3 separate regions of the Homo sapiens genome follow, and all the other regions are linked to region 1. The links are contacts of gene promoters, found by promoter capture Hi-C in blood cells and fetal thymus (Javierre and others, 2016). All regions are on one chromosome and are shown on one strand. The core of a region is centred on a gene start or on the middle of the fragment in contact, and the rest is flanking DNA. Distances in the headings are between cores, read along the strand shown.

What was found. The method cuts DNA at HindIII sites, captures the fragments that hold promoters and counts their contacts. A CHiCAGO score of 5 or more calls a contact.
Region 2: a contact is called between a fragment that was not itself captured here and the fragment with the promoter of PCBP3-AS1 in region 1, in 1 of 17 cell types (activated CD4 T cells). The highest score is 5.1, in activated CD4 T cells.
Region 3: a contact is called between the fragment with the promoter of POFUT2 here and the fragment with the promoter of PCBP3-AS1 in region 1, in 7 of 17 cell types (activated CD4 T cells, M1 macrophages, M2 macrophages and 4 more). The highest score is 11.6, in activated CD4 T cells.

What each region holds. Positions count from the first base shown.
Region 1 is chr21:45,834,951-45,838,259 of GRCh38, forward strand. PCBP3-AS1 (PCBP3 antisense RNA 1) reads right to left here and starts at 1,469. Exons shown (of 3, transcript NR_038876.1): 1 at 1,336-1,469. The region is part of intron 4 of PCBP3 (poly(rC) binding protein 3); the gene reads left to right. RefSeq lists enhancers at 575-1,082, 2,153-2,696. The HindIII fragment of the contact is 12,994 bases long and covers 1-3,309 here.
Region 2 is chr21:45,311,923-45,315,205 of GRCh38, forward strand. No RefSeq gene overlaps it. Among named protein-coding and RNA genes, the nearest start is that of LINC00205, 26 kb to the left of the region's middle. The HindIII fragment of the contact is 1,100 bases long and covers 909-2,008 here.
Region 3 is chr21:45,286,553-45,289,858 of GRCh38, forward strand. POFUT2 (protein O-fucosyltransferase 2) reads right to left here and starts at 1,343. Exons shown (of 9, transcript NM_133635.6): 1 at 1,189-1,343. The coding sequence starts at 1,319. It overlaps LINC00205 (long intergenic non-protein coding RNA 205), which reads left to right and starts at 1,500. Exons shown (of 3, transcript NR_026943.1): 1 at 1,500-1,692; 2 at 2,799-2,886. RefSeq lists a silencer at 1,270-1,799 and an enhancer at 1,954-2,684. The HindIII fragment of the contact is 9,019 bases long and covers 1-3,306 here.

The sequences.
Region 1 (3,309 bases), core at 219-2,718:
GTCACTCTGCGCGGTGTCCACCCGTGCTCGGGGTGGGCAGCGCCACTGAATGACGCGGGCAGCTTGGGAGGCCGGTTCGCGAACGCCGCAGCAGCCTCTGCTGACACGGGGGCTGCTCCCCACTCACAGAGCCACAGGTTCCTGTGGGTTCATTTATGAGGATGTAGGAATCATAGGAGTTAGGTACATCTTTTCCTGAGGTGAGAGCCAGATGAGGGGAGCCAAGACAGAGAATAGCCCACGTCTGCCCTGGGCCCCGGGGGCGGGGCCTACACAGGCTCCCAGGAGTGTGGGTGGGGCCTGTTTAAACTTCATGCCCCGGGACCTGCCTGGGAGCCTCCTGCACAAGACTCGCCCCACTCCGGAGGCTTAGCAGCACCGGAGCTGCTCTGTGGCCTGTTGGCAGAGAGGAGTCTGGTGCTCCTGTGCACGGGGGTCACAGCAAAGCCAAGTGGCCGTAGCACCTTTAACACTGGCCCCGGGTCTCTACACCTCCCTGCCGGCCGTCAGCTCCTGGCCGCAGCCGGCACTGACCTGGAGCACCTTAAGGAGCCCCTCTGCAAGTCCCTGTGCATCTGAGAGGTCAGAGAGGCAGAAACACAGTTCCAGGGTTCAAACCTAATATGCCTCAGCATTCTGGGCACTCACATGGTGTGCTGGGCCTGTCCTGCCACATGGCCCCTGCGTGAGGAAGACAGAGCCTGGGCGTGGCCCCACATCCCTGTGAGCTGCCCATGGGCCTGGACCCTGGCTCTGGCAGACTAGGCTGCATAGCAGATCAGCTTCTCCTGAGCCATTTTCATCCAGGCCACACCTGCCAGCTTGGGCCAGGGACAGGCAGACCCTGGGCCCAGGGTCTTGAGCTTGACCCGCAGGAGGTCTGGGCCTTATGCCCTGGGGAGAGGAGAGCGCAGAAAGCCAGTGTCACGGCAGCCCCAGGGGAACAGGCCCCAGGCCTGGCGGGGTCTGGATCTCAGTTCCACAGGGGAAGCTGTGGCCGCAGGCATGGTAACCTCACCAAACAAAAAGCTGCCCATCTTTCAGAATATGAGCAAGAAGTTTGTGAGTCCTTGATCACCAGAGGGGCAACGTGGGGCCCGAGATGACAAGGAGTCCAGGCCACCCACAGTAGCTCCTCCTTCAGCCTTACAGAGGGGCTGCCTGGTCTGCTTTCCTGGCCGTGGGTTGCCCCTCTCTGGGGGCCGATGTCAGCAGACCTGTGGGGGATACAAACAGAAGGAACCTTGGACCCCTTCCTGGTACCTCCTTACTCATCTGATTCAAACCCTCCCAATTCTGCCTCCAAAGTGGACCCTGACTCTCCCCAGTCCTTACCGTCCAGTCTCCAAGACCAGTCCACCCAGGGAGCGGCCAGAAGACAGCCCACCTGCGCCAGGCCTGTGTGTGCCTTTCCTGGCATCTGGAATGGGGTTTGGTGCTTGCTGCCTGTAGCCAGGCCTGCTGGTCATGCCTTCCTGCCCTGCTGGGCCTCATCTCCGTGACAACGTCTTGGCCTTCCTGCCATCCTTTGTAAGTGCTGCCTGGTCTGGGATCACGTGTGCCGGCTCCTCTGCTTGCAGTACTTGGCTGCACTTCCCAGTATATTCGTTAAAATGTTGTGACATGAGAATTAGCATATGACACGTACGTAACGTGAGCTGCGGAGCATAGCTTTCTCATGAACAGCCGTGACCCCAGGACCAGGCTAAGCGAGATGACCCATGCTGCCGTGGGTGCTTCCTCTTCTTTACCGTGATCCTGCATTTTGTTTTCTCATCTCTTCTCTTTAAAATAATTTTATTTTATTACACATGATTGCTTGTTTCTGAACTCTTAGAAAGTGACATCAGTCCCTACATAGACTTCCCAAACCTGTTCTGTTTAGTCACACACAAGGTGTCTTAGGTTGGTATGTGTTTCTGGGCAGAGCTGCAGTTTGTGTGCCTGGCTGCATAGTGTTCCAGTGTGTGAATAGGCATCATTTATTTGTTTTTCCAGCAGGGTCATGCGGCTCGCTTGCCATTGTGAGTGATGCTTCCGTGGACATTCCTGTGTGTTTCTTTTGGTGCACACATGAGGTGTTTTTGGTTTAAGGAAGTGGAATTGCTGCATCATAAAGTCTGTGAAAGGTGAACTTTCAGGAACTTTCAGGACCATGTCAGTTTTTGTTTCAAAGCGCGGGTACCAATTCCCATCCCCCAGCAGCGTGTTAGCGCCACGGATGATCTACAGTCCACCAACATTCTGAATGTTTGCCAATGCAGTGAATGTAAATAACGTTTCACTGTGGTCTGTATCTCCCGTTCCACATGCTCTTGTGCTGTGACTTTGATGCACCTCCCGCCAGGGAGGGGATCGTGACCCTCCCTTTAATCTGGGCAGGCATGTGCCTCCAGCGGAAATGATGTTATGTGACATCTGTGTGCAAGCCACAGGCAGCAGCACAGCGCTGCAGAGCTCCCAGGATGCTGGCTCTTGGAGCCTAGGGATGGCGCTGTGAGAACAGGCCACGGCGCCCTAGCTTCAGGTTATAGGGCATGGCTACGTGCCTGTGGAAATTCTCCTGCGGGCGGTTTCATGTCGAAGGCCTACCTGTAGCCCTGGGTTGTCTGCCTCTTGGGGGTAGCGGCTGTGTGGAATGCCTGCGTTCTGGATTTGGCTGGCTGCCTCCTCTGGCATGGTGCAGAGCCCACCTGCAACCCCATATTTGCCCTGGTAGGTCTGAGGTGCGATTCCACTCAGATTTATTTTTCCTGTGAGGCGAGCGAGCTTCCTAGGTGGCACTGCACGTTGCACCGCATGGCATGATGAGGCGTGTGGTCTGGCCGCTCCTTCACTGGTGCTGAGACTGAGGATTGAGCTTAGGGGGTCAGCCTGATCCGCCACTGCTGGGTTCCCCACCAGCCTTGCAGCTTGCTGTCAATATTCATTGATGGTCATTGCCTGGATGCAGTACACATTAGGGGCTGCAGAACGGTGATTTTCTAATTGTGTTGTTCTTTCTGTACTTATTAGTTGGGATTCATCTATGTGGAATAACGTTTGCCTCATCCACTAGGGCTGTTTGGTTACCTAAACTATGGTTCATGCCAGAAAGGCAGGATAGATGCTTCATTCTTTGCACTCAGTTGTTCTCACTGCGATGAGTTGGTTTCTGGAAGCCCCAGTGTTGTCCTGTGAATTTGTGTCTTTCCCTGCTTTTCTCTCCCTGTGAAGCATCATTGTTAACTGGTGGATGTTATACACACAGTGGAGTTTGGCCAGTGCAGCTGCCATTTCTTTACTCAAACTGTTCTGTAGTTTTTGGGC
Region 2 (3,283 bases), core at 209-2,708, 520 kb before region 1:
CCATCCACCAATCCTCTTGGCTCTGCTTCTCTGGAGAGCACTGTGCACACAGATGCACACAGATATCTTCACTTGGTCTTCAACCCCGGAGCACAGGCAGTGCAATGGACTAAAGATAGCCTTTTCAACAAATGGTGCTGGAACAACTGGACATCCACATGCAGAAAAAACAAATGAATCTAGACACAAACCATAAAACCTTCATAAAAATTAACTCACAATTTATCACAGACCTAAATGTCAAATGCAAAACTATAAAACTCCTAGAAGGTATCGCAAGAGAAAATCTAGATGACTTAGGATTTGGTGATGTTTTTAAAGTACAACATCAAAGGCTGATCCATGAAAAAATATCAGTGATAAGCTGGACCTCATTAAAATTAAAACCCTCTGCCCTGCAAAAGACAAAGTCAAAAGAATGGGAAGATGAGCCACAAACTGAAAGAAAGTGTTTGCAAAATACACATCTGATAAAGGACTGTTATCCAAAATATATAAAGAACTCTTAAAACTCAACAGTAAGAAAACAAACAACCCGATTAAAAAATGGGCAAAAGACCTGAACAGACACTTCATTGGAGAAGATGCACAGATGGCAAAGAAGCACATGTAAAGATTGTAAGAAATGCACCTAAAACAACAATGAGATGCCACCACACACCTGTTAGGAAGTCAGATTCCAGAACACTGACCACTGAATGCTGGTGAGGGTGTGGAGCAAAGTTTGGCATTCACTCATCACTGGTGGGAATGCAGAACAGCACAGCTACTTTGGAAGCCAGTTTGCAGTTTCTTACAAAACTAAATGTGTTCTTACTATACATTCTAGCAATTACATTTATTGGCATTTACCCAAAGGAAGTGAACATTTATTTCCATACAATCACCTCCATGCAGATGTTTATAGAAGCTTTATTCATAATTGCCAGAACTTGGAAGCAACCAAGATGTCCTTCAGTAGGTGAAAGGGGTAGGTGGACCGTGGCACACCCAGACAGTGGAATATGATGCAGTGCTAGAAAGAAATGTGCTGTCAAGCAGCCAGGAGAAAACATGCAGGAGCCTTGACTATGTATTACTACGTGAAAGAAGCCATGCAGAGAAGTCTACAGACGGTGTGATTCTAACCATGTGACACTCTGGAAAAGGCAATATCGTGGTCGCCAGCGCTCAGGAAGGAGGGACAGACAGGCAGAGCCCAGGGGATCTTCAGGGCGCAGAACCGCTCTGTGTGGGACTGCAGTGGTGGATCCATGCCATTGCACATCTGTCCAAACCCACGGCATGAAGAGCACCAAGAGCGAGCCCTCGTGTGGACCAGGGTCTTTGGGTGCTGACAATGTGGCCACGCAGGCTCATGGCTTGTAATAAATGGGCCGCTCCGGTGTGGGTGTTGATGGTGAGGGAGGCTGCATGTTTGTGGTGGGGCAGAGGGTGCATGGGAACTCTGTACCGCCTGCTCGATTTTACTGTGAACCTAAACCTTCCCTAAAAAATAAAGTCTATTTAAAAAAAAACTAAGAAGGACAAGCTGCGTTAATAGACATGCATAAGAAAGCGAGAGTAAATGAAGCAGGAATAGAGAAATAAACCAGCGGAGTGGAGTTGAGAGGGCAGGAAAAGTTCCACGCAACTGTGGGAGTCCCATTCGTGATAAGGGCGGTTTCTCAAATGAGGGGTATGCGATGGACTCCCCAGTACATGTGAAGTCAGACCCTCGCAAGACTGAACCAAGAAGAAGTTGAATCCTGAATAGACCAATAACAAGTTCTGAAATTGAGGTAGTAATAAATAGCCATTCCTCCCATTCCTCACTTCATTCCCAAAAACATGTTTCACAGACAGTAAAAGCCTAAACAGGAAGGGAAACTATAAGATATCAGAGGATGGGAGTTCACTCATGATTTGGGTTTCTGCTTATCTGTTGTTGGTGTATAGGAATGCTTGTGATTTCTGCACGTTGATTTTGTGTCCTGAGACTTTGCTAAAGTTGTTTATCAGCTTAAGAAGCTTTTGGGCTGAGACGATAGGGTTTTCTACATACAGGATCATGTCATCTGCAAACAAAGACAATTTGACTTCCTCTCTTCCTATTTGAAACCCTTTATTTCTTTTTCTCGCCTGATTGCCCTGGAGTCAGAACTTCCAACACTATGTTGGGAAAGAGTGGTGAGAGAGGGCATCCCTGTCTTGTGCTGGTTTTCAATGGGAATGCTTCCAGCTTTTGCCCATTCAGTATGATATTGCCCATGGGTTTGTCATAAATGGCTCTTACTATTTCAAGGTATGTTCCTTTAATACCTAGTTTATTGAGAGTTTTTAACACGAAGGGTGTTGAATTTTATGAAAGGCCCTTTCTGCATCTATTGAGATAATCATGTGGTTTTTGTCATTGGTTCTGTTTATGTGATGGATTACGTTTATTGACTTGTGTATGTTGAACCAGCCTTGCATCCCAGGGATGAAGCTGACTTGATCGTGGTGGATAAGCTTTTTGATGTGCTGCTGGATTTGGTTCGCCTGTGTTTTATAGAGGATTTTCACATTGGTGTTCATCAGGGATATTGGCCTGAAGTTTTCTTTTTTGTTGTTGTGTCTCTGCCAGGTTTTGCTATCAGGATGATGCTGGTCTCATAAAATGAGTTAGGGAGGAGTCTCTCCTTTTCAATTATTTGGAATAGTTTCAGAAGAAACGGTACCAGCTCGTCTTCATACTTCTGATAGAATTCAGCTGTAAATCCATCTGGACCTGGGCTTTTTTAGGTTGGCAGGCCATTTATTACTGCCTCAATTTTAGAACTTGTTATTGGTCTATTCAGGGATTCAACTTCTTGGTTCAGTCTTGGGAGGATGTATGTGCCCAGGAATTTATCCATTTCTTCTAGATTTTCCAGTTTATTTGCATAGAGTTCAAAATAACTATGAATACAGCTAACAAGGGAAGTGAAGGACCTGTTCAAGGAGAACTACAAACTGCTGCTCAAGGAAACCAGAGAGGACACAAGCAGATGGAAAAACATTCCACGCTCATGGATAGAAAGAATCAATGTTATGAAAATGGCCATACTGCTCAAAGCAATTTATAGATTCAATGCTATTCCCATTAAACTACCATTGACATTCTTCACAGAATTAGAAAAAACTATTTAAAAATCCATACGGAACCAAAAAAGAGCTCTCATAGCTAAGACAATCTTAAGCAAAAATAACAAAGCTGGAGGCATCATGCTACCTGACTTCAAAATATACTACAAGGCCACAGTAACCAAAACAGCATGGTACT
Region 3 (3,306 bases), core at 93-2,592, 550 kb before region 1:
TGAGAAGTGAAAAAGGCGTATAATACTCTGGTACTACTATTAAAACGGCTACAAAAGCTCAGAGATCCAGGACACACTTTAAGATCACTGCCCTAGAGGAAGGACACAAAGCGCCCCAAGGCACAGACAAGTCCCCAAGGCACAGACAAGTCCCCAAGGGCTACAGAAACCCTGTCCCTGGCGCTCTCCTTTCCCTGCTCTGCGCTGGTTTTCCATACTCCCATCGTCGCGAGTGAAGCTGCGTGCAGCGCCCAGGCCTGCGAACGCCACGAGGGGCCGTGCACACCTCTGCGTCCAGGCCCCTCCCGGGGTCCGCTTGGAGATCCCACAGCCACAGGGCGGCCGCGAAGCTCGTCTTGGCCCTGAGAATTCACTGCGGAGCGCCCGCCCGGCACTGACTCCCGGCTCCGCACACCCAGGCCTGGACCCGTGTCACTTGCAGGGGCCTCCGGAGCCAGCCCACGCTCAGCCTGAGCAACCCGGCCCCCTTCCTGGGCTCCCGAGGCTGCGCCCCGGGCCTCGCAGACGACCCCGCCTGCAGACCCGGGCCGCAGTGACGCAGCCTCGACTACAGCCAACCCGCTGGCCCGACCCTGCCCCCAGCCCCCGCCCCATCCCATCCCCCAGACTCCAGCCCGGCCCCGGCCCCTGCCCCTGCCCCTGCCCCTGTCCCGTCCCCGTCCCATCCTTCTTGGCCCCGGCTCCCGCCCCGCCCCCATCCCATCCCTCGGGCCCCCGTTCCTGCCCCCATCCCATCCCACCCCTCCTGGCCCTAGCCCCTGCCCCGCCCCCATCCCATCCCATCACCCTGGCCCCTGCCCCGCCCCCATCCCATCCCATCGCCCTGATCCCTGCCCCGCCCCCATCCCATCCCTCCTGGCCCCTGCCCCCTGCCCCTATACCATCACCCTGGCCCCTTACTCCGCCACATTCCTTGCCCCAGAACCCTGACCCCATCCCATTCCCCTGACCCCTGCCCCCTGACCCCGCTCCATCCCATCCCCCTGGCCCCTGCCCCATAACTCCGCTCCATTCCATCTCCCTGGCCCCGGACCACCCTCCATCCCGTGGGCCTGCCCCTGACCCCATCCCATCTCCCTGGCCCCTGACCCCGCCCCGCCCCCATCCCATCCTCTGACCCTGCCCGGTCCTGGAACCCCAGCGTTGGCACCGTGGACGCGCGTTTACCGTCTGCGGGAAGCCGCCCCCGACAGAATATCGGCCGCCGATTGTCCGGGCCAGAACTCCTGGCCGGAGGCAGAAGCCGGAGGCCAGGACACTGCCCCCAGCAGCAGGAAGACGAAGCTGAGTGTCGCCATGGCCCCGGGCGGCCACGCACTTCCGGCGGCCGCGCCCCGCCCCGGAACCACGCCCCGCCCCCGTGAAATGCGTTCCCAGTAGCCACGGCAACGCCCAGCTCCGCCCTCCCCGCGCATGCGTTATGCGCCATCACCGGCAAGCAGGGGCGGGAGGGGGAACTGCGCGTGCGCAGAGTCTCCGCCCTCCTGACCGCAGCGGCTAGAGGTTCCATTGCAGACCCGGAGGCCGTGGCTGTGGTTCGCGGCGGTGCTGTCGCGGGCGCCCTGGCGCAGCCCACGCAGGGGCTCCTGAGGGTCCGCGAGGCCGGGAGGTCCGGGGGTCGGGAGGTCCCGGGGTCGGGAAGTCGGTGGACCCTGCAGGCCAGTGGGGAGGGTACGCGAGACTGGGGGCCGGGAGGGCTGACGGCTGGTGGCGCGGGGCGGGTCCGTGGGGAGGAGGCCCGGGGCTGGTAGGGGCGGGAGGGCTGGACGGCGGGGGCGGGGCGGAGGAGGGGGTCCGTAGACGGGGTCGGCGCCGGGTGCTCTCGCCCCTCTGGAGCTGGGGTCGGGGCGGGAGCCGCGCATGAGAGCCTGGGTTTCTAGTCGGGGGGCGCCGTCGAGCTCCACACCTGCGGCCTCCTGGGTGCCCCCAACCCTGGAGCCCCGGCGAGGGGGCACCCGGGCTGAGGCCTGGCCCTCCAAGGAGCCCTGGAGGGACTGTGCTGCTAGGGCGCGGGGCTCGATGGGGTGATCTGGAGACCTGGGGGGATCCGGGGCTGCCGCCCCTGCGCTGCCAACCTCCCACCCCGCCCCTTCTGCGAGGCGTTATTAAAGGTCTGGTTTCGGGAGCCAGGTGCGTGCCCGCCGCCGCCGCTCCCCGCAGCCTCCAGGCAGCTCCCGCTGTTCCCCGAGGGCACCAGCACTGGCCGACCGACCTGGCTTGGGGCGCGGCGCTGGCAAACCCGGCCTTCTGAGGGGACGCCACGCTGACTCTAGTGCAGGCAGCCCCCAAAACGGTATAATTGGACGAATTTCTTGAAGGATGCCAGTTACCAAAAAAGAAAATACTAATGCTTATTATCTGTTAAATTTGAGATCAATTTGTTATCAAATTTTCTCACACAGAAAATTCCAGGCCCAGAGGGCCAAGCTGGTGAATCCTACTTAGAGAAGAAATAATAGGAATCCAGCCACTCAGACGATGGACGAGGAGGGGCACTTCCCTGCTCGATGTATGGGCCAGCATTGCCTTGATAGCAAAGTCAGACATCACCAGACAGTAGAACCACAGACCAATGTCTTTCATGAACCAAGACACAGCATTTAAAAAAATTAGCAAATGGAATTTATATCTGCCTATTGTTTACAAAAAAAGCCAAACTTTGTAAAATACTTGAAGAGATTTATTCTGAGCCAAATATGACCCATGACACAGCCTCAGGACGTCCTGAGAACTTGGCCCAAGGCGGTTGTTTTACTGCTTGGTTTTATTCATTTCAGGGAGACATAAGACATCAGTCAGTACATGTGAGGTGTGCATTGGATTGATCCAGAAAGTCAGGACGACTCCAAGTGGAAAGGCCTCCAGGTAATAGGTGGATTCAAAGATGTTTCTGATTGGCAGTTGGTTGAAAGAAGTTACTATCTGAAGGCTTGGAATCAATAGAAAGGAGTGTCTGGGTTAAGAGAAGGGGCTGTGGAGACCGAGGTCCTTATTATGTGGATGAAATCTCATAGGTGTCCGCCCTCAGAGGCAATACATGGCAAATGTTTCCTATTCAGACCTTCAAAAGGCACTAGACTCTCAGCCAGTCTCCTCAGGATCAGAAAAAGAGCTGGAAAGGGAAGGGGAGTCTACAGAATATGAATTTCCCCACAAGACACCGCTTTGCGGGGCCATTTCAAAATTTGTCAAAGAGATATATTTTGGGGTAAAATACATTGATACTTTGAGGGCCTGTTGTCACGTGATGCTATACCAGCGTCAGATTGGAACTTGGTGTCTTGC